Linked DNA regions of Homo sapiens: regions 2, 3, 4, 5 and 6 are each linked to region 1. The links are contacts of gene promoters, found by promoter capture Hi-C in blood cells and fetal thymus (Javierre and others, 2016). All regions are on one chromosome and are shown on one strand. Each heading gives the region's core, a stretch centred on a gene start or on the middle of the fragment in contact. The rest is flanking DNA. Distances are from core to core; before and after follow the strand shown. Region 1 holds the start of DCD (dermcidin). Region 2 has its middle 22 kb from the start of OR9K2. Region 3 has its middle 49 kb from the start of OR9K2. Region 4 has its middle 29 kb from the start of NEUROD4. Region 5 overlaps TESPA1 (thymocyte expressed, positive selection associated 1). Region 6 overlaps TESPA1 (thymocyte expressed, positive selection associated 1).

Evidence for each region. Contacts are between HindIII fragments. The CHiCAGO score rates a contact against its expected background, and 5 or more counts as called.
Region 2: a contact is called between a fragment that was not itself captured here and the fragment with the promoter of DCD in region 1, in 5 of 17 cell types (total CD4 T cells, activated CD4 T cells, non-activated CD4 T cells and 2 more). The highest score is 6.4, in total CD4 T cells.
Region 3: a contact is called between a fragment that was not itself captured here and the fragment with the promoter of DCD in region 1, in 10 of 17 cell types (naive CD4 T cells, activated CD4 T cells, naive CD8 T cells and 7 more). The highest score is 8.5, in naive CD4 T cells.
Region 4: a contact is called between a fragment that was not itself captured here and the fragment with the promoter of DCD in region 1, in 1 of 17 cell types (activated CD4 T cells). The highest score is 5.9, in activated CD4 T cells.
Region 5: a contact is called between a fragment that was not itself captured here and the fragment with the promoter of DCD in region 1, in 1 of 17 cell types (M1 macrophages). The highest score is 6.0, in M1 macrophages.
Region 6: a contact is called between a fragment that was not itself captured here and the fragment with the promoter of DCD in region 1, in 1 of 17 cell types (neutrophils). The highest score is 5.1, in neutrophils.

The regions. Positions count from the first base shown.
Region 1 is chr12:54,646,480-54,650,672 of GRCh38, forward strand. It overlaps DCD (dermcidin), which reads right to left and starts at 1,886. Exons shown (of 5, transcript NM_053283.4): 1 at 1,767-1,886; 2 at 642-680. The coding sequence starts at 1,824. The HindIII fragment of the contact is 3,742 bases long and covers 61-3,802 here.
Region 2 is chr12:55,102,657-55,106,849 of GRCh38, forward strand. No RefSeq gene overlaps it. Among named protein-coding and RNA genes, the nearest start is that of OR9K2, 22 kb to the right of the region's middle. The HindIII fragment of the contact is 1,978 bases long and covers 1,007-2,984 here.
Region 3 is chr12:55,075,658-55,079,850 of GRCh38, forward strand. No RefSeq gene overlaps it. Among named protein-coding and RNA genes, the nearest start is that of OR9K2, 49 kb to the right of the region's middle. The HindIII fragment of the contact is 534 bases long and covers 1,741-2,274 here.
Region 4 is chr12:55,047,228-55,051,420 of GRCh38, forward strand. No RefSeq gene overlaps it. Among named protein-coding and RNA genes, the nearest start is that of NEUROD4, 29 kb to the left of the region's middle. The HindIII fragment of the contact is 526 bases long and covers 1,516-2,041 here.
Region 5 is chr12:54,971,572-54,975,764 of GRCh38, forward strand. TESPA1 (thymocyte expressed, positive selection associated 1) reads right to left here. Exons shown (of 11, transcript NM_001136030.3): 2 at 2,829-3,036; 3 at 1,906-1,948. The coding sequence starts at 2,991. Among named protein-coding and RNA genes, the nearest start is that of TESPA1, 11 kb to the right of the region's middle. RefSeq lists enhancers at 2,434-2,945, 2,946-3,455. The HindIII fragment of the contact is 511 bases long and covers 2,074-2,584 here.
Region 6 is chr12:54,952,006-54,956,198 of GRCh38, forward strand. The region is part of intron 10 of TESPA1 (thymocyte expressed, positive selection associated 1); the gene reads right to left. Among named protein-coding and RNA genes, the nearest start is that of TESPA1, 31 kb to the right of the region's middle. The HindIII fragment of the contact is 8,424 bases long and covers 1-4,193 here.

The sequences.
Region 1 (4,193 bases), core at 636-3,135:
TGGGACAGAGGCACCATACACACCAGGCAGGGAGGGCTTCAGAGAGCAGCTGGGACTTGAAGCTTGTTAGAGCACGGACAGGTAGGGGTTGAAAAGGTACCCAGGAAGAGGAACGTTGGGTAGTAGAAAGTTACTCATGCTGTCTGATGAAACAAATGTATAACGTTTGATGTGGAGAATGCAAGCAGTGGAGTCTAGGGAAATTATATTTGAAAAGTACCCTGGATCTAGATCATGGATACCCTGAATGTCAGGCTAGGAGGTGAGAGTTTCGTGATGAGAAATGGGAAACCACGTGAAAGGTTTTTGAATTGAAATTGTTGGTGAAGGTGGGGCAGATGAAAACCTCTGAACCCATCTAATGTGAAGTTCCTCCTCTTGCTCAAGAAAAGTATTCTTTTCTTTCCCATTTTTCTTACTCCACTTCTACTTCCAGACAGGGCCACCCTTTCCCCCATGCTCTGTCCTTCTCCAGTGCATGAGTCTCTCAGGAAGTCTCCCTTCTCCATGTCTCCTAAAAGTCGGCCTCCCAACTCTCCTTCCCCGGACCCCCCTTCTGCTTCTCTGACTTCCTCCACTCATATCCCAAGTCATTAACCCTCCCACCCAGGACTGGGGCAGGAGGAAGAGAAAGGACTCACGGTTCCCCGATCCTGGGGCAGAGGCGGCCTCTGGATCATCTGCAAAGGAGGGAACAGTGACCATGTCAAGTAGGGCACAGTTGCATGAGCTGTATCCAGCCAGGGCTGCCTAGAATTCCCAGGCCTCTAATCTCAGGAGTGTGGCAGTGGACAGACAGGAGAGAAATCTCTGCTTCACAAGGGGCCCACTAGAAATGCTTTTTGGTATCTCAACCAAATCCCTCTCTCTGTTATCCTCCCTAGACCTAGGCTACTCAGAACATCCCTATGGAAATGGAATCATTCTCTGACTCTCTTCTATGTCTTAGATGTCCAAGTTTCATAATGAAAGTTGAAGGGGCATGACCACGAGGGCATGACCACAGCACCTGCTCTAGTGACAGGGCAGGAGTTGTTCTGATTGTCACCTGATAGAATGACCTCAGAAGGACCTTCCCTCCATTTCTTTATTCTTCCAAAAGCATGAATGAAGCACGCATTATGCACCAGACATGGTGTTAGAGGCTAGAGATACAGCTGTGAGGAAGACAGACAGTGTAATTGCTCGGGGAAGCTGACAGTCAATGGGGGATTTGGAGGAATTAACATAATTACATAAACAATTATTTAATTACATTTGTGATAGTGCTAGGAAGGAAAAATACAGGAGGCAAGAAAATGCAAAATAGGGGCCAAAATGATTCTGGGGCTTCAGCAAGCCTGCTGTGAGGAAATACATGGACACAGAGAGCTAGCAGGGCGGACACTTGGAAATTGAGTAGGAAGGAGGTTGACGTGGGTGGGTGAAATAATGGGCAGGGGAAAAGACAAGAGGATGTGCAAAAGTCTTGGCAGTGGGAAATGGCTTGGTTCATTGAGGGGAAAAAGAATGCCAGAGTGGTTGGAGCAGAGTGGGCCAATCACAGACTGAGAGGAGAGGCAATGGAGAGCCAGGCTGGGGCCACAGGGCTCCTGGCTTCCTCTGACCATAGAGTCCCTGTGTGGAGAACCTAGTGGGAGGCAGGAGTGGGCTACAGAGACAGACTTGGGTGAACTGCCTCTGGCGAGGAGGGGAAGGGGAAATGAAGGCAGGGCCCAGTCTTCAGGGGACTATATGGTTGGGTGTCGGGGAAGAGCCATACTCACAGGCACAGACCAGGGCTCCTGCCAGAGCTGTCAGGAAGAGGAGAGTCATGAACCTCATGCTTCTGTGTGCTGGAGTGGGTATGCCACCAAATCCTTGGAGATCTTGGGATCTAGGGTGTCAAGACTGCCTCTCTGGGCCTTTTTTTAAGCATGACAGGGACCAATGGGAACCAGTCTTCCAGTGGTGTGTTCTCCTCCTCCTCTTCTCCCACCTCAGAGCCACCTGTTAAGTCAACAAAGGCTGGCTGGGGCTGGCTGGTGCCCGCCTTCCCTGCAGGTAGGTCCTGGACAGCAGCTCTGGAGTTGGCACTGTCCTGACTGGCATCCTTTTCCTGCCTCTCCCCTTCCCATCTCGCTTGTCCCTGGGCTCCCATCTCTGATTGCATCTGGGGTCCTGGGGAAGACTGTGAGAGGTTTCTGGAGAGGGCCCTGGCAGGAGGGCTGTGCCCAGAAGGCTCTCCTTCCACCTGGAAACAGAAGGGGGGCCCAAGATGTCAGATCCAGCCTCCTTAGGAGAGAGTGGGGGTGGCTGAGGCTTCCCTTGAGTGGGTTAAGCCCACCCTAGGGGGCTGCCCTCACAGCATTTGGGGATCCCACCTGACTAAGGTCCAGAGAGGCTGATGTCCTCTCTAGGGGTCTCCATGTGGTAACCAGAGCTTCCCAGCCTCAGTAGGCCCTGACCAGGGTGTCTTCAGTCCCAGCTAATGATCCTCTACCCCAGAAAATTCTCCTGGTAAGTTAACCAGAATATGAAGTCAGTTCCCAGTTTGCCCTTCATATAGGGGAGGGAGGCCAGTGGTGTGGATAATCCAGAGAAGTGGAGAATCCAAAGGTGCTTCTCTCTGCCTCAGAATCCCTTCCTGCGGACTTGTGTTTTCTTCGAAATGGCAGAAAGTCCTGGAGATGTGGGTTTATGACTCGATTTTGTTGTTTACTAGCTGTGTGGCCTTCAGAGAGGCAATTTACCTGCCCCACTTCAATTGTTTTTCTTTCTTCTTTTATTTTATGGTAATATTTAAGGTGTAACATGAAGTTTTGATATACATGTATTTAGTGAAATGGTTACTATAATCAAGCAAATGAACACATCCATGATTTTACATAATTAGCCTTTTGTGTGTGTGTCTCTCTGTATGTGTGTGTGTGTGTGTGTGTGTATGTGTAAGAGCACCCAAAATCTGCTCTTCCAGCAAAAATCCCAAATTCAATACAGTATTATTGACTCCAGCTCTTGTGTTCCACTTCAGCTGTTTTGCATTTGATGGTGAGAAATGATCATTTTAATCCTACAGGTTTCGTGTGAGGAATACATGTGTCAAAACTGGTCAGCTCCCTCCTCCATCTATTCCAGACCCAAGCTGGGGAGCTGAGGATAACTTGGAACCTTAGTTTCTGCTCCTCACAAAGCCAGTTACTTCCTTGAGATGTCTTCTCTCCACGGAGTGGAGCCTGCCCTTGCCCTGTTCCTGGGACCTTGGTGAAAATGGACTGAGATTTGTTTCCTGAGGTGCTCTGTCTGTGCCAGACACCGTGTTGGACCCAGACAGATAAAGATGAGTAGACTGTGGTCTTGCCTTGAGGGGATACACAGTAGGCAAGGATCTCAGACAGATGAAGGGACAATTGATGGTAGCAGGGGACTCTGTCCTGGTAGACAAAGCATGCTCTTCCTAGCCTATGGGATTGAAGCAAAGTTGTGCTCCACCACTTAGAGGCTGAATGATTTTGGCATGTCACATAATCTCTCTGACTCTCATCTCCACAGTGTGACCCAGGGTACTTGTGAAATTCGAACAGGAATAGCTCAGATCCACTTTCTGGGTCAACTTTCTGGGGCTCTTCCCTGTTCTCTGGATGTCTACCTCTCACCTCCATGGGAACTCAGTCCATCTGAGCTCTCACCATCTCTCCTGTTGTGTGGTTCATTGTGAGACTTTCTTGGCTTTTTTCCTTCAACATACAGACATCTTAAAAATAAGCAAAATGTTCCCTTTATACTCTCCCTATCTAGCTTCTTTCCAATCCTTCTGCAACCAAGCTTTTTGAAAACAACTCCATTTTTTTTTTGGCCTCAACATCCGTGTTTTGCTTTATGTTCTTATCACCCTGTAATGTTTGCACCACCATCCCTGGAACCGAGATACATCCTTGCCAAGGTACTCGGATACAGTCGCCACTTTTCAGCCTTTATCTTATCTGATCTCGGTGGGCTCTGACACTGTTAGAGCCACTCATCTTTTGAGGTGCTGGGGTTTTCTTTCTTTCTCTCCTTTTTTGGGCCACCCTTCAGTCCCACTTTGACTCACCTTGCCTGCCCCTTTGATATTCTCCAGTGTTCTATTCTTAGCCTTTTTCTTCTCTCCTCTTACAAACTCTCCTGTGTGACTCATTCTTGGAGTCACACTTCCTGGCTCCCACATCTTCATT
Region 2 (4,193 bases), core at 746-3,245, 460 kb after region 1:
GTTTTTCTGATTTTCTTAATGATTAAATTCAGGTACGTATCCTTGTCAGGATTATCAAACAAGTGTAGTGAACCATGCTTACAATATGTTATCTCAGTGGCACACAATGCCAATCTGTCCCAAACCCATTTGATTAAAATAGTATCTGCTCTCTTTCTCCTCTGTAAATTTACTTTCTCTTTTTGTAATTAGTAAGTATTTTTATTAAACATTGTGAGACCATGTAGGTATTCTAGTTTTCTAAGTTTTGAAAAATTTATTTATTTATATAAGCGTGAACTCATGGTTTTCTACTTTATTTAATGTGTTATAATACATTATTGACATTGTTTATTTTGATGCTCAGATTATCCCCAGTTTAGCCAGTGGGAGTTTCTTTGAGCTAGCTTCTGTGTTTTTTTGACTTATCTCCAACATTCTTTTAACACTTTATACTTTTTGACACAAAACAACAGAACAGATTTTTGTGTTCTTTGCCTATCTGATATGAAATTACGCATTTCTCCAAGGATCCCTGGTTCCTTTTAGTGGAGAAGTGTATTTAGAAATCAAGACATGGGTGATGTGTGTTCAATGTTACTGCTATTTAGGTGCTGGTAGGTCTCTTAGTTGGCAGACATACATATGTATATATGTATATGTACACATCCACATACATTCATATGTGCACTCATTCATGTATGCATACATACCATCATTTGCACCTACATTTCTATATCTATTACATATTGAAAATGATGAGTGATATGGTTTGGATTTCTGTCCCCACCCAAAGCTCATGTTGACTTGTAATCCCCCATGGTGGAGGCGGTACCTGATGGAAGGTGATTGTACCATGGGGGCAAACTTACTCCTTGCTGTTCTAGTGATAGTGAGTGAGTTCTCATAAGATCTGGTTGTTTAAAAATGTGTAGCACCTCCCGCCTTCTCTCTCTCTCTCCTGCTCCACCATGTGAAGATGTGCCTGCTTCCCCTTTACCTTCTGCCATGATTGAAAGTTTCCTGAAGCTTCCCCAGCCATGCTACCAGTACAGCCAGCAGAACCATGAGCCAATTAAACCTCTTTTATAAGTTACCCAGTCTCAGGTAGTTCTTTATAGCAGCATGAGAATGGACTATTACAGTGAATCTATTCTGACACTATAAATTCCAATCCAACAGTACAGAGTTTATTCTGGTTTCTCAATTTGCATATTGCAAACTCCCTCTCCAATACTCATTATGTTTAATATATTTACTTTTTGACTAATTCCGCTTTATATTTTCTCTATACTCTCATTACTGCTGTCTCTCTTTCCCCTACATGATTGTTCTTTTTATCCTAATCTGGCTTCTGCACCTGTTGCTGGGCTGCTGCTAGTATAAACCTGTGTAAATACCCTTTGCATCCTGACCACTATCCAACACTCTGCCTTGGGCCTTTCTGCTATATGGAAACCATCTACAACTCAACCATGCTCTGATATCCTATGCCAGGTCCCACCAATTGACTACTATGAATGCTTTCCTGATCCCACATTTACTCTGATACCATTATAAATATGGAGAATCTCATGGATTTCTTCTGTTATAATGTTACGGCAAAGATCTTTGTAAATGCTCTCTGGGAAAGTTTTTGTGGATGCTGTTTGGGAAAGAGACACCAAAAGAGTTTCATTATTCTGAATTTGTGGCTTGAATTTGGGAAGAGTTGATAGAAGAGACAAGATATGAACACTAACCATTAAAAATGGTTATAGTTTCAGGCTAGAGTGAAAATAAACAGAGAAGCAAAAACTGATAATTAGAAATTCTAGCTTATTCAGAATAGACAAAATTAAAAACTGTTTTCAATACATAGAAAAGTACACAATGTTAATAGTTCTCGAGTGAGATTATTTTGACACTATAAAGAGCGTCTGCACTCTGTGAACCAATTAACTTGTTTTAGGGTAGACTATGTACTCAAAAATCAGTTTGTCATGTTACCATCTGTGTAACATGTTGCATGAGAGGATTCAAAAGATTTTCCCCGGTATATAAATAAAACATGAGGCACCCAACAATGGCCAAAATTGTAAACATTTTATTGTTTTTTCTCATACTCATTTTTTGAAAGTCTACCTCCAAACCTTCTACAACATACTATAACAAAAAAGTTGTCTTTTATATTTTATAATGTGTTGACACAACCAGACAATTTTAAATTGGTGTTATTCCCTTTATTTTCTTCCATACACATGCTCCCATAGTCAGGCATGACTTTTCAGATATGCCGTAAAGTGTTAAATATGAAAATGATACTAATGCATCCCAAATCCTACATATTCTTTTCCACATATTAAATGATGGCCAGTTTATATTCTATGTAATAAAAGAAGTCCATGTATATATTAAACCTATATTTGAAGACTGAGCATTTTGTCATGCATGGATATGGTATTTAAATGTTTTTCCAAGTAGTGTAAGTAGAATTATTAAATTTTCATCATAATCAGCATTATAAGAAGTAAATATGTTTATAAGAGGAAATACTTGTTAAAAGTAACCAGATATTATACTTTGCTTCAGTTGAGCTTTTAATTGATTTAATTATAAATTCCCGCTTATTATATCATTTATGTGAAAGTGAGAACTTACTTATTATAAAATCTAGTAAAGGTAATTAAAGAAATTTAAGTTGATTAGGCTTTGTGTGAGAAAATGAACCTAAATCTTGTATAAATGAAATTATTATTTTCACATTATTTTTAAAACTGATAAGAGCAGGCAGAAGAAATAACATTGTTTCTAAGCCAAAATTGTCAGCTTACACAAGGTTTTTTTTTTACCACATTAATATATCAAATATAAATCCCATTTTTTTGAGAATACTGAAGTTTACTTCGTACTCTTCTCTAACAACTTGCACTACATTGCCACCTGTCGTGAAGCCTAATAACCAAAACCATTACAAATTTAGCTAAATTATTTTTCTCCTTAAGTAAGTTTTATCAAGTGTCGGAAGCTTATTTTAAGCAAGCCAACAAATGTAGAACATTTTGCATGAAGTATTTCTAGAAAATTTTACAGTTCTCTCATATTAAAAATGCTTTTCTAGTCTTTATAAGCTAATGAAGAACAGCTTCATTTGATAAACAGACTACTGTGTAGTTCTATAAGTGAAGATATATCAATATGTTTGCTGAGAAAGTATTTCTGACTCAAAACACACTTTATTCTTATCAAACTCTTAGGTAGATTAGCACATTCAGGAACAGTTTTTAGCTGACTAACTCTCAACATATTGTGTGTTGCTTTTTCTGTAGCACCTGTTGAGTGAGATTGAGGGTTCAGCTAGGGTCATAACTTTAAGCACCATTAAGTTCGTGTTGTCAGTACGTGAAGCACAGTTTTACATCTGAATTTTCCATCATTTGTATATTTCTATGGGCCTTTCTTATAGTATGAAAGAGGAGAAAGAGAAATCATGTACTCAGAAGCATCAGATTTTTCATAGTCATGAAACTCTTCTTCTCAAAAGTAATTTTCCCCATTCTTCATTCCATTCTTTCATTCATTTGTTCTATTTTGTACAGTTTGTTCAAATTATGAACACTTTTCTTAAAAGCCAGAGGCTTTGCCATACAAAACCAGTTTCAGAAGTTTTTGGGAAACATTTACACATTTTCTCCCCATAGATGGGAATGTGCCTGTTTGAAATAGATGTTATTACAGTGTGTGAAAATGGCTTTACAACCAATTAATTTCCAAATATTTCCTGACATAAGAGAGAATTTGCCACAGATACAGAAAAAGTACAAAAGATCTTTGTAAGAAATGAATTACTTCAGGATAGAAAAGGCATTTTTAAAATTTACATGCTCATTATGAGAACTAGAAGTCTCATTTTCCAGTGGCAGCTGTAAGTCAGAGTAAACTTAGCACAAAAGCTCCATAATAGTCACGGTTATTCCAGATCTCTAAGATCTTCCCTTTATTCCAGAGAGAAATGTATTGTTTTCTTTCTGATGATTTAGGCTCACAATGGCATACAAATAAAATGCATAGCTTAAAGGATGTTAAAAGAAAGTGAAGACTCCAGATGAAAAATAAAAAAGGTCAACTCTATAGAACATCTGTCTTGTTGACTGTCATCTAATAGATACTGTCCCACAATATCAGATTTCCATGGGGAAACATGAGGCTGGGGACAAATCAGGATCAGAGTTAGA
Region 3 (4,193 bases), core at 758-3,257, 430 kb after region 1:
CCCATACCCTGACAGGCCGCAGTATGCATTGTTCCCCTCCCTGTGTCCATATGTTTTCATTGTTCAGCTCCCGCTTATGAGAACCTGCGGTATTTGGTTTTCTGTTCCTGTATTAGTTTGCTAAGGATAAAAGCTTCCAGCTCCATCCATGTCCCTGCAAAGGACATGATCTTGTTTTTTTATGGCTGCATAATATTCCATGGTGAATATGTACCACATTTTCTTTATCCAGTCTATCCATGATGGGCATTTGGGTTGATTCCATGTCTTTGCTATTGTGAGTAGTGCTGCAATGAACATATGCATGCATTTATCTTTGTAGTAGGATGATTTATATTACTTTTGAGTATGTACTCAGTAATGGGATTGCTAGTTCAAATGGCATTTCGGGTTCTAGATCTTTGAGGAATCACCACGCCATCTTCTCCAACGGTTGAACTAATTTACATTCCCACCAACAGTGTAAAAGCATTCTATTTCTCTGCATCCTTGCCAGCATCTGTTGTTTCTTGACATTTTATAATTGCCATTCTGACTGGAGTGAGATGGTGGCATCTCATTGTGGTTTTGATTTGCATTTCTCTAATGATCAGTGATGTTGAGTTTTTTTTTTCGTGTTTACTGACCACATGAAAGTCTTCTTTTGAGAAGTGTCTGTTCATGTCATTTGCCCACATTTAATGGTTTTTTTTAATGTAAATTTGTTTAAATTCCTTGTAGATTCTGGATATTGGACTTTTGTCAGATAGATAGATTACAAAAATTTTTTCCCACTCTATGGGTTGCCTCTTTTCTCTGATGATAGTTTCTTTTGCTGTGCAGAAGCTCCTTAGTTTAATTAGATCCCATCTGTCAATTTTTACTTTTGTTGCAATTGCTTTTGGCAATTTTGTCATGAAGTCTTTGCCCATGCCTATGCCCTAAATGGTATTGCTTAGATTTTCTTCTAGGGTTTTTATAGTTTTGGGTTTTACATTTAAGTCTTTAATCCATCTTGAGTTAATTTTTGTATAAGGTGTAAGGAAGGGATCCAGTTTCAATTTTCTGCATATGGTTAGCCAGTTTTCCCAGCACCATTTATTAAATAAGGAATCCTTTCCCCATTGTTTGTTTTTGTCAGGTTTGTTGAAGATCAGATGGTTGTGGATCTGTGTGCTCTTGTTTCTCTAGTTCTTTTAGTTGTGATGTTAGGTGTCAATTTGAGATCTTTCTAGCTTTCTGATGTGGGCATTTACTGCTATAAATTTCTCTCTTAACACTGCTTTAGTTGCATCCCAGAGATTCTGGTACGTTATTTCTTTGTTCTCATTGGTTTCAAAGAACTTCTTAATTTATTCCTCAATTTCATTATTTATGCAAGAATCATCAATTTCTAAGATAGTTTCTGAAATTTGCTATCATTCTTATTTTAAAAATGCAGATTAAATTGAGTTGAGACTCTTGATTTCATGTGTTACACACAGAGCATATAAATATTAGATGAAGCTAGTGTTTCAGGATGTGGAAATGGATTTTTATTGTAATATTCTATTCCAAAGGCAGTCCTAGCACATGCTAGATATCAGTGGAGAGAAATTGGTGATACTGTGGGGTTTCTAAGTGCTGAGGCAAAACTAAATAACGAATAGAAATTCTGAGTAGTTATTCTCACCAAGGGAACCATTGGGGAGAGAGACTCAGGAATTGGGGAGAATTTTTGAAGAACCTGCAAAAACTCATTAGTAAAATAGTCAATTTTCAAGCTTTTCCTAGCAAGAGAGCTATGACGGTATATCATAATAACAGTATCTTCAAATCTGAATTTCCCTATCCTCTTTCTTCATTTCTCCACTTCAATTATGAAAGGTTAGAGAGATGGGAGAGAAGAATTCCTATGCAAAGGAAGACTAAACTAAATCTTGCACCCACTCTTCTATTGCAGAGCTTGCTGCATGTGATGTGTTATAAACTTTAAAATAGGTGTTTACCCATCATCTCTGTGGATTTTACATTATGATATAACATCCACCTTGGTATCTGGTCTGTATTATCTCTATACTTGCAGCTTAAATATTTATTAAACTAGCTACATATACGAGTCCTATCTTTTAATCTACAGATCTATATTTATGTATAGAATATCATGGGTGAATCTGCCTCAGAGGGATCAAGTCTATAACTTTCATCAGCTCTTTAAATAACTCATACTTTTAATTGCTATACTATCAAATAAGTAGTTTCTTGCATAGTAAAAACTGCTTCTATTCAAAATCTAAAATCTGAATTATATGTGTAAGCTTATTTTCCAGAGATATTTGCTGTTAACATTAAATATATCTGCATATATCTTATAGTTATTTTTCTTAAAGCAAATGATACAGCATATTTAGATTTTAAATTTAATAGACACCTATTAATTAGTTGATACATTAGTTACATTATTTTATATTATTACTTTTCTATGTCTTTCAATTGGCTTTTTACTCCAGGCATGGTACAAATTACCTAATTTAAAGATAATTTTTAAAGCGCAATCAGAAACAACAAAGTTGACATTACAACCGATGCCCCAGAAATGCAAAAGATCCTCAAACACTATTAAGAACACCTCTATGCACACAAACTAGAAAATATAGAGGAAATAGATAAATTCCTGAAACACAATCTTTCAAGATTGAATCAGGAAGAAACTGAAACACTGAACACACAAATATTGAGTTCCAAAATCGAATCAGTAATGAAAAACCTAGTAACCAAAAAAAGCCCCAGACCAGATACAGTCATAGTCAAATTCTACCAGATGTACAAAGAAGAGCTGGTACCAATTCTACCAAAACTATTCCAAAAAATCAAGGAGGAGGAACTCCTCTCTGACTCATTCTATGAAGCCAGCATCATCCTGATACCAAAATCTGGCAAAAACACAGTGAAAAACAGAAACTAACAGGCCAATATCACTGATGAATATAGATGCAAAATTCCTCAACAGATTACTGGAAAACTGAATTTAACAGCATGTTAAAAAGCTAATTCACCATGAACGAGTGGGCTTCGTTGTCGGAATGCAAGTTTGGTTCAACATGTGCAAATCAATAAGTGTGATTCACCACATAAACAGAATTAAAACTGAAAACCGTATGATCATCACAGCTTTTGATAAAATCCAACATCCCTTCATGATAAGAACCCTCAAGATAGGAACTCTCAAGAAACTAGTCATTAAAGGAACATACCTCAAAATAATAAGAGTCATCTATGACAAACCCACAGCCATCATCCTACTGAATGGGCAAAAACTGGAAGGATTCTCCTTGAGAACTGGAACAAGACAAGGATGTCCACTCTCATCACTCCTATTCATCATGGTACTGGAAGTGCTACCCAAAGCAGTCAGGTGAAAAAAGAAATGCAAGGCATCCGAAAAGAAATAGAAGTCAAACTATATCTCTTCATAGATGATATGATCCTATATCTAGAAAAGCCCAGAGAATCTGCCAAAAGCCTCCTAGAACTGATAAACAACTTCAGTAAAGTTTCAGAATATAGAATCAGTGTACAAAAATCAGTAGCTTTTCTATACACCAATAATATTCAAGCTGAGAGCCAAATCCAGAATGCAATCTCATTTTTAGTAGCCACACACAAAACTAAAATACCTAGGAATACATCTAACCAAGGAAGTGAAAGATCTCTGCAAAGAGAACTAAAAAATACTGCTTAAAGAAATCATAGATGACACACACAAATAGAAAAATATTTCATGCTTATGAACAGAAAGAATCAATATTGGTAAAATAGCCATACTGCCCAAAGAAATCTACAGATTCAACACTATTCCTATCAGACTACTCATCTCATTTTTCACAGAACTAGAAAAAACCATTCTAAAATTTATATGGAACAAGAAAACAGCCTGGATAGCCAAAGCAATCCTGAATAAAAAGAACAAAGCTGGAGGCATCACATTACCTGACTTCAAACTATACTATAAGGCTACAGTAACCAAAACAGCATGGTATTAGTACAAAAACAGACATGTAAACCAATGGAACAGAATACAGAACACAGAAAAAAAGCTGCACACCTACAGACATCTGATCTTTGACAAAGTCAACAAAAACAAGCAATGGGGAAAAGACTCCTTATTCAATAAATGGTGCTAAGATAGCTGGCTAGCTGTATGTTGAGGAATGAAATTTTGCCCCTACCTTTCA
Region 4 (4,193 bases), core at 529-3,028, 400 kb after region 1:
GGCAGGTGGATCAAGAGGTCAGGAGACCTAGACCATCCTTGCCAACATGGTGAAACCCCATCTCTATAAAAAAAAAACACACAAAAATTAGCTGGACACGTTGTGCATGCCTGTAGTCCCAACTACTCGGGAGGCTGAGGCAGGAAAATCACTTGAACCTGGGAAGTGGAGGTTGCAGTGAGCTGAGATCGTGCCACTGCACTGCAGCCTGGCGACAGAGCGAGACTCAGTCTCAAAAAGAAAAAAAAGAAACACCTAGAAGCTATTCTGTTACCAGTTAACTGTATCATCTCATGATGGTTTTCAATCTTGATGAGCTACATTAAAAAAAACCCGGCTGGTCCTTTCAAAAAACCAGCTCCTGGATTCATTAATTTTTTGAAGGATTTTTTGTGCCTCTATTTCCTTCAGTTCTGCTCTGATTTTAGTTATTTCTTGCCTTCTGCTAGCTTTTGAATGTGTTTGCTCTTGCTTTTCTAGTTCTTTTAATTGTGATGTTAGGGTGTCAATTTTGGATCTTTCCTGCTTTCTCTTGTGGGCATTTAGTGCTATAAATTTCCCTCTACACACTGCTATAAAAAAAAAAAAAAAAACCCGGCTGGGCATGGTGGCTCACGCCTGTAATCCCAACACTTTGGGAGGCCAAGGAGGGCGGATCACGAGGTCAGGAGATCGAGACCATCCTGGCTAACACGGTGAAACCCCGTATCTACTAAAAATACAAAAAATTAGCTGAGTGTGGTGGCGGGCGCCTGTAGTCCCAGCTACTCTGGAGGCTGAGGCAGGAGAATGGCATGAACCCGGGAGGTGGAGCTTGCAATGAACCGAGATCAGGCCCCTGCACTTCAGCCTGGGCGACAGAGCGAGACTTAGTCTCAAAAAAAAAAAAAAACAAAAAAAAAAAAACCAGTAAATTTCATGAATTATACTCTAATATAAATGACTTCCAGATTTTACACTAATGAGTCTAGTCCTCAAAAGTTTATACATAATAAGTTGTGTTTAAATTCAGCCGATTGGTCTCTGACTCCTAGATCCTGAATTGAATCACTATAGGTGATTCTGGGATGGCACTGGGAGAGGAGAGAGGTGACTGCTTTCCCTGACCTGGGCAAATGGAGAGAGAATGGTAATCCTCACTTAATATCATGCCTTGATGCACTGCTCACTGGAAAATTTGCCACTGAGTCACTTTGAGGAACTTTCATAGAGTTTATTAGACACAACACAAATTACTCCTTATCCACGTTTGCCAGGGGGAAAAATACCCCAGAAACTTATGGGAATGAATTTTGCTAAGAAGGAGAAAAACAAGTTTCTTATGAAAGGCCTGCAGGATCCATTCCCCCCGTCAAAGCTGACATAAATCCTTTTCTCCCCCCTCACTGCTTTAACAAGAATGGACCTCGGCCTTCAGATAGATCCCAAAACTCTTGATTCAATAGGTGTGTGTGCATATGAGAATGGCTTTGTGTCTGCATGTATGTGTGTGTTTATTCTTTCAGCATATGCCAAAGCTTACTCTTTGTTTATATGTTTAGCCATGCCATTGACTGAATCTCATAGATTTTAGACACACAAAAATAATTACCAGTTTCCTGAAGCTAATGAACCATAATCCCCTCCCTGACCTAATTCTTTGTCTCTAATCCCCAATAATCAAAGTGCTTGATACATGCTAAGTCTTCATCAAATCTTTGTTGCTAGGATGATCAAAAAGATAGCTGACCTAGGTCTAAACACCATGTCCTCCACAATTCTACACAATATCAGGAAGGAAAGTGGGTGTAGGTGGTGAACCTGCTTTTCTTGGTGGTGTCATTCTTCCTCTTTATTTCTCTCTTTTAATTAGTTAAAAAAATCAGTGTGGGATTGACTGGAATTTGTGCATCCGCAGATGAAAGCAAGACTAGCAACATGAATACTTTGTATTTTTCACTCCGTATCACCTGAGGCAGCCTCCAGTGATTGAGAATAAGGGAAATGGGAATGACAACCGGGTAGGCAACCAATAATGCCTGCCAGAGTAACGTTTAATCAAAGCTTGCAATGACCTCAAAGTTTACAAGGTATTGTAAATTATTCATTTTTTTCTAGAGAATATTTTTTCTTACTTGGGAGTTGTCCTACACACAAATTTTAATGAACTGTGTTAATCTGATCCATCATTGTTTAAATTATTTAGACCTGTTATGAAAATAAAAAATCCTCAAACTTGTAGCTGTGTTTATTTTCTATGAAGTCTGGGCAAATAAAATAAAAAGTGGCTGTTGTGGACTTAAATCCCAATACATCTGAATTTGCAATAGCTGCACTGAGAAACACACTGAATAAGATAGAAAACAGGAACCGTTAGCTGCGTCATCCATTTTTCAACATTGTTACAGAATAAAGTCAAGCTCATTATGTACAGATTGCAGAATTTTTCTTCTACTGAAAAGCATGGTAACATTTTCTTATCTCAAAAGTTTCCTAAATATTATAAAGCAGCGATTCCCAACCTTTTTGGCACCAGGGACCAGTTTCGTGGAAGGTGAAAGACAATTTTTCCATGCGGGGTGGAGAGTGGGGGGTGAAGGTACTGGGGAAAGGCATTAGCTCCTCGTAGGGAGCGTGCAATCTGGATCCCTCGCATGCGCAGTTCACGATAGGGTTCGTGGTACTATGAGAAGCTAATGCGGCTGCTGATCTGACGGGTGGTGGAGCTGAGGCCATAAAGCTCAAGCGTCCACAGCTCACCTCCTGTTGCGCGGCCCAGTTCCTAACAGGCCAAGGATGGGGACTGGCCCACGGCCCAGGGGTTAGGGACCCATGTTATGAAGAGCAAGCACATCGCCAATCAGATTTTCATCTTTATTTGGCACTACTGTTTCGAGAGGCTTAAGTTTACTTAACCCAACTCAGTGCTCTCTGATAATCTTTTCTCCTTATGAGCTTCGAAGTTCACCTTCAAAATATTTATTTTCCTGTATTTTCCAGACTGCTTTCTGTACTGGGTCAGTCAGAAGTGGAATTCTGCCTTCTCTCTGCTACTTGTTAGAATAACTACATCTTCACCAAACAGCACCTAACTCTTCCTTTTTTATCTTCTTTCATAAACCTTGGCTTATAATCAGCCCCCTTTTTACTGGGCAATATTTATGGCCATAGTATTATTTTGTGTACAAGTTTGAATATAGGATCTTTATTCCGAACATCATATATGTCTTTTTAACTTGAGATTTTTTTAAAGGATCTTTATTGTCATATTGGTTCTTTGTAAACCTGGAGAAGTGGAATTGGATTTGTACCCTTATAGTGAAACCCTGGTTCTGATACACGATAGGTTTATAATCCTTATCGAATCATTAATCTTATTTGACTATCAGTCCAGGTTTATTATTTGCTTTTTCATTGGCACTATAATGATTTCAAGTTTTAAAGTTTTCTGTATAACTGTGTGGCCATCTGAGGACTAGAATATAATGTTATTTTAAATAATTCAAAAGAGAAATGTGTAATATAAAAAAGTTCTTTATAACCCATGCCCACTGCAGATAACTAGTATGTAGGGGTGTGTGTGTGTGTGTGTGTGTGTGTGTGTGCACGCTTAACTGAAAGGGAGGTAGACTATATATGATGGTCTGATATTTAATGGCACTTCGAATTTCTTCTCTGTTTGTAGTGATGGTTTCAATGTTCCTTTTTTTGAGGGAGGATGGATCATTTTGTCCTATGTGTACAAGTAGCCAATTTCTTCTCTTCCTCACTGTCAGAAATTATTTTTCCTTAACGTTTACTAGTTTACCTAGTTTAGGATTGCTGACTCAATCCTGGTTAGAGTATCTGGGCACTCTGACTCCATGGTCAGCTTGACTTGGTCTCTAGCATCCTTGGCCATGCCTACGGTTTCCATTCTGCATTTCTGTCCTTCTGTGGACAAGCCACTGCCTCATAGTTTTGGTATGATGATATCCTTAAAGAAATCATACTCTATTTCCCAACCCTAACTGGAATTTTCCCATGAGGGAACATACGTAATATCTTCTTAAGTTGTTTAGGATCAGGGAACACTTTAGGGGTGAAGAAACAGCAAGTTTAGGTAATCCATTAAAGGTCATAGATCCTGTGAGCAGGAGAGCTGGGTCTACACTGAATGTTCTAGGACTCTTCTGTGGATGGCGCTGCTGAGCTTGCATACTTGTGGGCAGCAG
Region 5 (4,193 bases), core at 1,079-3,578, 330 kb after region 1:
CCATTTTGAAGTTTAAATATTTGAAATCTTTTCAAAACACAGATACATAATGAAAATGTAACAGATACCCTTGCACCAGTCACTCTATTTTCACACATGTAAACATTTTGCCATATTTGCTTCGGAAAAAATAAAATATTAAGTAATATATAATGTAAAATAAAAAATTAAATATTAAAGATATAACTAAAGTCTTATTTTACTTCTAAAGTCAATTCTTTTCCTTCTTCCAGGTAATCACTATCCAAGAGTTAATATGTATCATTTCTGGGAATTTTTTTTCTGATAAATAAACAGATGTAGATAGATGGATAGATATAGACAGACATTTTGTGGAATTATAGGTAGGTATAAACTCCTCCTTTATAAAACTCACCAGTCACTCACTATTAAAAGCATAAAGCACATACACATATATCATCTCATTTAAACCTCACGAGAACCCTTAGACTGTATTATTTTAAGCGTCCCACTTTATAGCTCAGGCGTCTACAGTGAACAGAATTTAAGTTATTAGCTTATGGTTGGTTAAACACTTAGTAGCACAAGAATTAGGCTCAAGTCTTGGAGACTTTTCACTAACCAGACCACCTTTTTGTCATAAATTTTGGTTCAGGGTTTATCTTTGTAGAGCATGAGTGAAGAAAGATGATTTCTAGAGTTTATTATCTTGTATTTCTGTGAATTTATTATTTTCAATTAGAACGAAATATGTTCTAAGTCAATGAGCATATTTTAAACTACTTGGCACCCCTCTAGGTTATTCAGATAATCAGACAGTTAGCAAAAGCGTAATTAATAATTGCTGACATGAATTGATGACTCAAGAGTAGTTAATGAGATAAGGACATTAACTGAGCTGACTGTTTCCCCTGTACATATCTGGTAAGTATTTTAAATCCTAGGACAGTTCTCATCCTAGGCTTCTCACCCAAACCTGCAAACATGCTGATTACCACCATTCTTTTCTTCCTGTATTCTGTGGGTCCTCTAATTGACTTTGAAATCAATGAATTATGAATAAGATGAGGGCAATGAGAACAATAGGTTTTTTCAAACAACAAAACAAACACAAAATAAATCCTTCCTGGCATTGCCTTCTTGGGTACAGGTGAAATAAACAACCTTGGATTATTTGGTGTTATTTATTTCCTACCAAATAAGCAAGAATGGGTTTCTTTATGCCAATTAATAGATGAGTTTAGATTAAAGGCTATATAAAACTTGAGCCATTCCTGGAGGGAAAATAAGGAGCAGGCAGAAGTTGTCCATTCTGAGAATTCATTATTACACAGAAGACTAAATAGATCACAGAATTCTTCCTTTTGTGTCTGGGTATACTGAGCCTAAGAACGGTACAGGCTGATGGGCTGTGGGGTCTCATAATTTAAAGTATCTCTGAGGAAAGAGATAATGCACTGCCTTGAAGTGCCTGCTCCAATTCTCCCCTGCTTTGAATGACTGTCATAAACCCTAAGCTTCTCCTGTGCTCTGCAGTAGAAATAAATAACACAGATGAATTGCTCTTCAGCAAGAATGATCAGGTTTCCAATTCCTTTTGTTACACAATGTAAGACTCCAATCTAAAGGGGGAAGTCAGGGGAGTAGGGGTCTGGAACTCACCCCAACTATTCCCCATCCACTCTTAGCTTTAGCTCAAACCCAACCTCTATTCCTAGACCTCGTGCCTAATTTAGTCTTAGCCCCAAGTTGCACTTGATTCACAATTGTGATCACCAGTTCACCCTAAACCCGCAACACCCCTCCAACCACCATCTCAACCTTACTTCTAATCTTTAGGCCCAAATCAAATCCATCTTCCCGTCTCTGAGTTTCCAGGAGTTGTGTCTGTTAGCAAATTCAACCATCAGCCACATACCACCCCATTGCCTGTCCAGCACTTACCCGCAATCCTGCAGCCAGTCTTCAATTTTATTGATTGGATTCCCTAGAAAAGTCAGACACTAGATCACTGTGAGAACTGAACGAAATCAGACCTCCTCCCTGCAACTAATTCCATTCCACAAGTTTATTCTTACATAAGCTGCGTCATGAATCTTTTTTTCTACATAAAGCTTTTCTTTAAGATATGAGAGGAATACACCGTATATAAAAATAGTAGATATTTCTTCTCTCTCTCTGCTTCTTTTCTCCCTTCCTCCCAAGAACCTGGAAAGTGCCCAAGATGTCAGGCCCACTGCTGTCTTTTGAGAGTTCCTTTCCCACAAGGGTGGATCCTTCTCATTTAAAAAGAAAAAGAAAAAGAAAGACAATCTTGTTTTTGTGCTTTTTGCTTCCTACCAAATAAGCATTTATTTCCATCAGAATTTTTGTTTTACTCTTATGACTGTGGTCTCATCTGAACCTCAAAGAAGCTCTGAGAAGTGTAGGAAAGGTACTACTACTTCAATTGGACAAATAAGTCTTAGAGAGGTGAGTGACTTCCCAAAGGCCACACAGCTTGTTAGTGACAGCATTGTGGCCAGAGTCCAGGCATCCAGCTTGGGTGTGGTCTTGTTACACAGACAAAATAGAAACACCCCAAAGCATTCATAGAGAGCCCCCAGCCTCAGGTTCTTACAGAAGCTTCTCAGGATGATGCAAAAATGTGCCCTTCCCTTTTTCCTAATCTTATGCCTGTCTCTTTCTCACATAATTCATATTTCGTATTACTTTAGCTTTTCTCCTAAACATATTTAAACCAGTCAAAACAGTCCTCCCTGAGGGCCTGGCTAAACAAGGAACCTGTTCACACTCTGCAGACCTGGGCCTGCTGTCACCTTTTGCCGCCAGACAACATAGACGCCTGTCTGATGTTCGTCTCTTACCTTCTTGGAAAACGTCATCCAGGCTGGAAGGCTCAGGATCTGGGACATCCTGCAGGGCGGCGGCAGCCTCCTCTTCTAGGACCTGGGTCTGCCAGTTACGGCTCTGACGGAGCCAGGCCCGCCGTTTCTCCCAGGATGTGGGGCTCAGCACAGAGGCCTCCATGGCCCTGGCTCAGACTTCAGGGCCTCCCGTAACAGTAATGCCGTCCTAAGAGTTGAAAAACAGTGATACTCCCTCATCATATGCTCAGAAACCATCATGATGCTCAGGGTTGCCCCCTGAATTTTCCTGTGTCTGCCCAAAGGAGCTTGGTCTCTCTGACCATTCAAAAGCAGGGAGGACATGCCTAGCTCATTTTCTGTCTCTCCTGCAAAAAAGGAATGCTCTGAAAACTCTAAATACCGGGATAAGTCTTTCAAGCCAGAAAGTTTGAAAGCTTCAAACATCATGATTTAATGGACATTAAGAAAACTCTTCTGACTTAAAGAATCTCTATTTCTCAGGGTAATCGAAATGCTGTATTAGAAAACATTTTTTCTTTAATCCTTAAGAATGTTGTCTACCAGAATCTTCCATTATGACTAAAACATCTTTAAGTTTACAACTTATAAAATTCACTTCATTTTTTAATCCTCATCAAGACATATGAAAAAATTTAGGGTCTCAAAGGTAAAACAGATTTTCTAAGGTCCCACAACCAGGATGTCACTCCAACTATAGGAATTCTGGGTTTTGTTTGTTTAGTTTTTGTCTTGATTTTTTATGTTCCTGTTTTATATATTAGGAGTCCACATATGATTTCTCTCAGAAAAAAAAAAATACCCTGTGATTAAAAGCAGAGAGACACTGCCTTAAGCAATTAGCAGCCAGCACCTTCAGGATAATGACTTTCTAATTTGTCAACTTGTGCTTCTACCTAACTATGAATTTATTCCTCAGCTCATCAATGCAATTACTAATCCTGTCGATTCATATTTCATGTAACATTACCAAATATTGATGTATTTTTCCAAGAGACACAATGATGGCACTAGATACACATTCAAAGAGGAACAGAGGGGAAGAATCATTCAATTGTCCAAATAGAGCTTAAAAAAGCTTGAAGCTAATGTAATATTCATTGGCTCATACTCTGTCCTGCTGCCTCTCCCCAGCTGGCCACACTTGCATCCCACCACACTGAGCAAATAGGAGTGGGGCTGAAACTCTCCAGGTCTTATCCCCCTATTTCCTCGAGCTGCCATAAACAACATCATCTTAAGAGCTACACTTTTAACTATTGGAATAAAATAAAATAAAATAAAATAAAATAAAATAAGAAGACTACCAGTTTACAGAGACTTCTGTTCTTCCAACACTTAAAA
Region 6 (4,193 bases), core at 1,002-3,501, 310 kb after region 1:
TGCCCTCCAAAATTCATGTTGGAATTTAATTGCCATCGTGATAGTATCAAGAGGTGAGGTCTTAGGGAAAAAATTAGGATTAGATAAACTCATCAGGGTGAGGCCCCATGATGGGAATCTTGGCTATATAAGAAGAGGAAGGGAGACCTGAGATGGCATGCTCTTGCTTTTTTACCATGTGATATCCTCTGCCATGTTATGATGCAGAAAGGAGGCCCTCACCGGATGTGGTCCCTCAACCTTGGACTTCCCAGCTCCCAGAACTGTAGTAAATAAATTTCTTTTATAAAGTAAAATACCTAGTTTGTAATGTTCTATTATAGCAACAGAAACCAATGAAGACATGAACCTCTTTATCACAGTATTTTAGAAGTACCTTACACTCACCATGTTCAGATATGAACTCATCAGCTTTTTCTAAATAGTCAAACAAGATGACTAGATACTCTTTCAGTACAGTGTTAATCTTGACTTTCTATTTACACTGCTATTTTATAGTTTTGCAAGAGCAGAGATTACCTTAGTGATTTATGTTGGGTAGAGATGCAAATAATTTCCATCCAGTGGAACCAGTAATCCCAGAGATAAAGTTTATGCTGTTATTGGATATTAACCAGTTTTGTATCTAATATGGCAATCTGTTAAATTCTCTCTCTGTATAAACTGACTTCTCAAATAGTCTTTGGACCAGGTCAAGCATATTGCTGGTGCCTTCAGTAATTAATGAATTGAGTAAAGTCTTTGAACATGTTTATCTACATTTGCATGAGAGTCATTATTTTACCTTTTTGAAAATTATACTTTAATATATTTGCCTTCCAAATTGTTATTCCTATTTTTACTTCATTCTTAATAAAATGATATTTACATCCATTTAGTTGCCCAAGAGGAAACCTGTATGCCCTATCTTTCTTTCTGTTCCTTATTCCATTTTTCTTCCCCAAACACAAGTCTAATCGGTCCTGGCTTAGATATTTTACCTCCTGAATATCTCAAAATCTCACTCGTCCTCCCCTCTATTCCCACTGCCTTCAGCTTGTTTCTGATCATCACATTTCTCCCTAGGTTTCTGCAGTAGATTCTTAAATTATTTTCCTTACTCTGCCGGCTTCCTACCCAGTCCATCTCCCATACTTCTACCAGAATAATCTTTCTAAAAGACAAATCTAATCACATCACTTCCTTTGTAAATTTTTCAGTGGATTCCTACCTTAGACTAAACCAAAACACTTAAAATAACATAGGAGACTCTGTTTTATAACTTCCTTTCTATTTATCTTTCTTATTTTCAGTTTTGATCTTTCTCCAGCACATCCCCTTTCTCCCACTAGGCATAAGGTGTAGTTTCCATAAGATATTGTGGTATTCCATTCATCTGTCTTTGAACTTACCTTTCTCTCTGCCTAGAATATCAATATTCTGCTTTTCCTTTTTCTACTCTCCTCAGCCACCTTCTCCCTGTTCAATGTTGGACACATCTGTCCAGACTTACCTTCTCTACATCTTTTTTTATTTACTTTTTTTTTTTTTGAGACGGAGTCTCGCTCTGTCGCCCACGCTAGAGTGCAGTGGCACGATCACAGCTCACTGCAAGCTCCGCCTCCCGGGTTCACGCCATTCTCCTGCCTCAAGCCTCCCGAGTAGCTGGGACTACAGGGACCCGCCACTACGCCTGGCTAATTTTTTTTGTATTTTTAGTAGAGACGGGGTTTCACCGTGTTAGCCAGGATGCTCTCAATCTCCTGACCTCGTGATCTGCCCGCCTCGGCCTCCCAAAGTGCTGGGATTACAGGCGTGAGCCACCGTGCCCGGCCTACCTTCTCTACATCTTTGCCAACACACATCGTTAAAAAAAGTAATGCCATCTTCTGAAAGGTTAATTTCTGGTCCCTATGGCATTTAATGAAAATTATTAATAATTACTGATTCTCTTGTCATGTTTTTCACTAAACTATGAGCTCAAAGCATCCTGTGAACATTTCTGCTTATTCTGTATAATGCTTCTCTTGCTGGTGACTTTATAAGAAGGCAAGTACATTTCAGTGGTGACAAAGGTAGTGAGAGTATTGGTACTTAGCATAAAGGGTCAAGGCACACAGTAAATGAAGCTCAGATCCAAGTACAGGTAGCGAGGCTTGCCCTGATCCACAGTAACAGCCTAAACTTCTGCTCAATCAGGGCCATATGCTCTGATGGAAACGGCCTTGGCTTGGATCTCAGGAGACCTGGGCCTTAGTTCTGGCTCTGACACTAACTAGTTGCATGATCTTGCTAAGTCCTTTTCTTGAGCCCATTCAAGTATAAAATGGATTTCAGGTAAATGAAATCACAAAATGCAAAACCACAGACAAAATAACACTTCTGTATCTTCTTTTCTCTTCCTCAGTCTTCCCTTTATCTATACTGTCTCATTCTTTCTTTGGCTGTGGAAGGCAGAAAGATAATCTTTATCTGCATTGCTTAATCCCCATTTTCTAAGTTGTAGTTCAAATGGATCACCAAGATTACTTCCAAGGCTGCCAAGGCACACAACATCAGGTGTCAACATTCACATAGAAAGCAATGTAAGAATTGCTTTTGAGGATGTGCAGAGAAGAGGAGGTCCTGGCTTCATCCACACCACTTTACACAGTCCTTCTGGTAGAAAGAGCCTCTAGTAATTATACTGTATAGCATTTTCAGAAATATTGTCTCATATAAGTCTTATATAGAGAGATGATGTCCACAGGATTATCCATGCCATCACATATTGCAAGGCTTCCTTTCTTTTAAAGGCTGAATAATATTTCACTGTATATATATGTCTCATTTTCTTTATCTATTCATCCACTGATGGACATTAAGTTTGTTTCCACATCTTAGTCATTGGGAATAGTGCTGCAGTGAAAATAGGAGTGCTAATATCTCTTCAAGATCCTGATTTCAATTCTTTTGGATAATTACCCAGAAATAGGATTGCTACATCATATGGTAGTTCCACTTTTTATTTTTTGAGGAAACTTAGTACTCTTTTCCATAGCCGTTGCACCATGTTACATTCTTACCAACAGTGTACAGAAGTTTCAGTTACTCTACATCCTTGCGAACACGTATCTTTCTTTTCACTAATAGCCATCCTAACAGGTTTAAGGTAATATTTCATTGTGATTTTGATTTGCATTTTCTTGATGATTAGTGATACTGAGAATCTTTTGATATACCTGTTGTGCACTTGTATGTCTTCTTTCAATAAATGATAATTCCAAAATATATGAGAAACTTCTTCAACTTAATAACAAAACAAACAAATAGATCATCCAATTAAAAAAATGGACAAAGGTTGACATCCATCCCTTTGAAATGTAATTATCAAGGAGGGTAGCACCTGTCTCTTCCAGTCTCAATGGGCAGGTGGGCATCTAACTTAAGCACTTTGTTTTAACTTGCAAAAACCACTTCCTGTCTTAAAAATATGAGGTTTATTTTTTTCTTTGCATAAAGCCAATTGACTGACACAGATGGCCACTCCAATTACCAGGTAAGTCTAGGGTGAACTGTGAGTGACAAATGATTCTGTTAAGTCTTCTTACTTGAGGACAAAGTATTGTTTATTTGACAACAGCCATGTAATGGGTTGTATCTGCCTGGCTATGTACAAGGGTAAGATTTCGTTCTGTGTTTGCAATCTGTTTAGTGGATGTTCTGTAATACATATCATAGTCTGCTTCAATGGTATTCAAAAATAAAACTTTCTTTCTTTTACACCTTTGTGGAGTGATTTCCTGGGGTGGGAGGAGATTTTGTTTTTAATTATATTTTCCCAACAGAGGCAAAACAACCTTGGTAAGAATTGTAAATGAGGTGGAAAAATATTCACAATTTCTTGATGTCCTCCCACTATCCCTCCCCCTTGTCTAATCTCTTCTTACACTTCACATCTGACTGTCCCTCTTCAGAATTTATTTTGATATAAAAATGTGTCCAGTATCATCATCTATAAAATGGGGAATAATGAAAGACCTTATGTCATAGGATGAAATGATTTAATATCCATAAGTGCTAAAGATACTGTCTGCTATGTAGTAATCCCTATATATATTGTTATTGGTAATATTATCACATAGGACAATCTTACATCAAAGAGAAGACTGTAGCTACCCAACTTACACAGGTTCCACCAAGTACAAACAGATAGTGCTTTGAGTTACCCACCA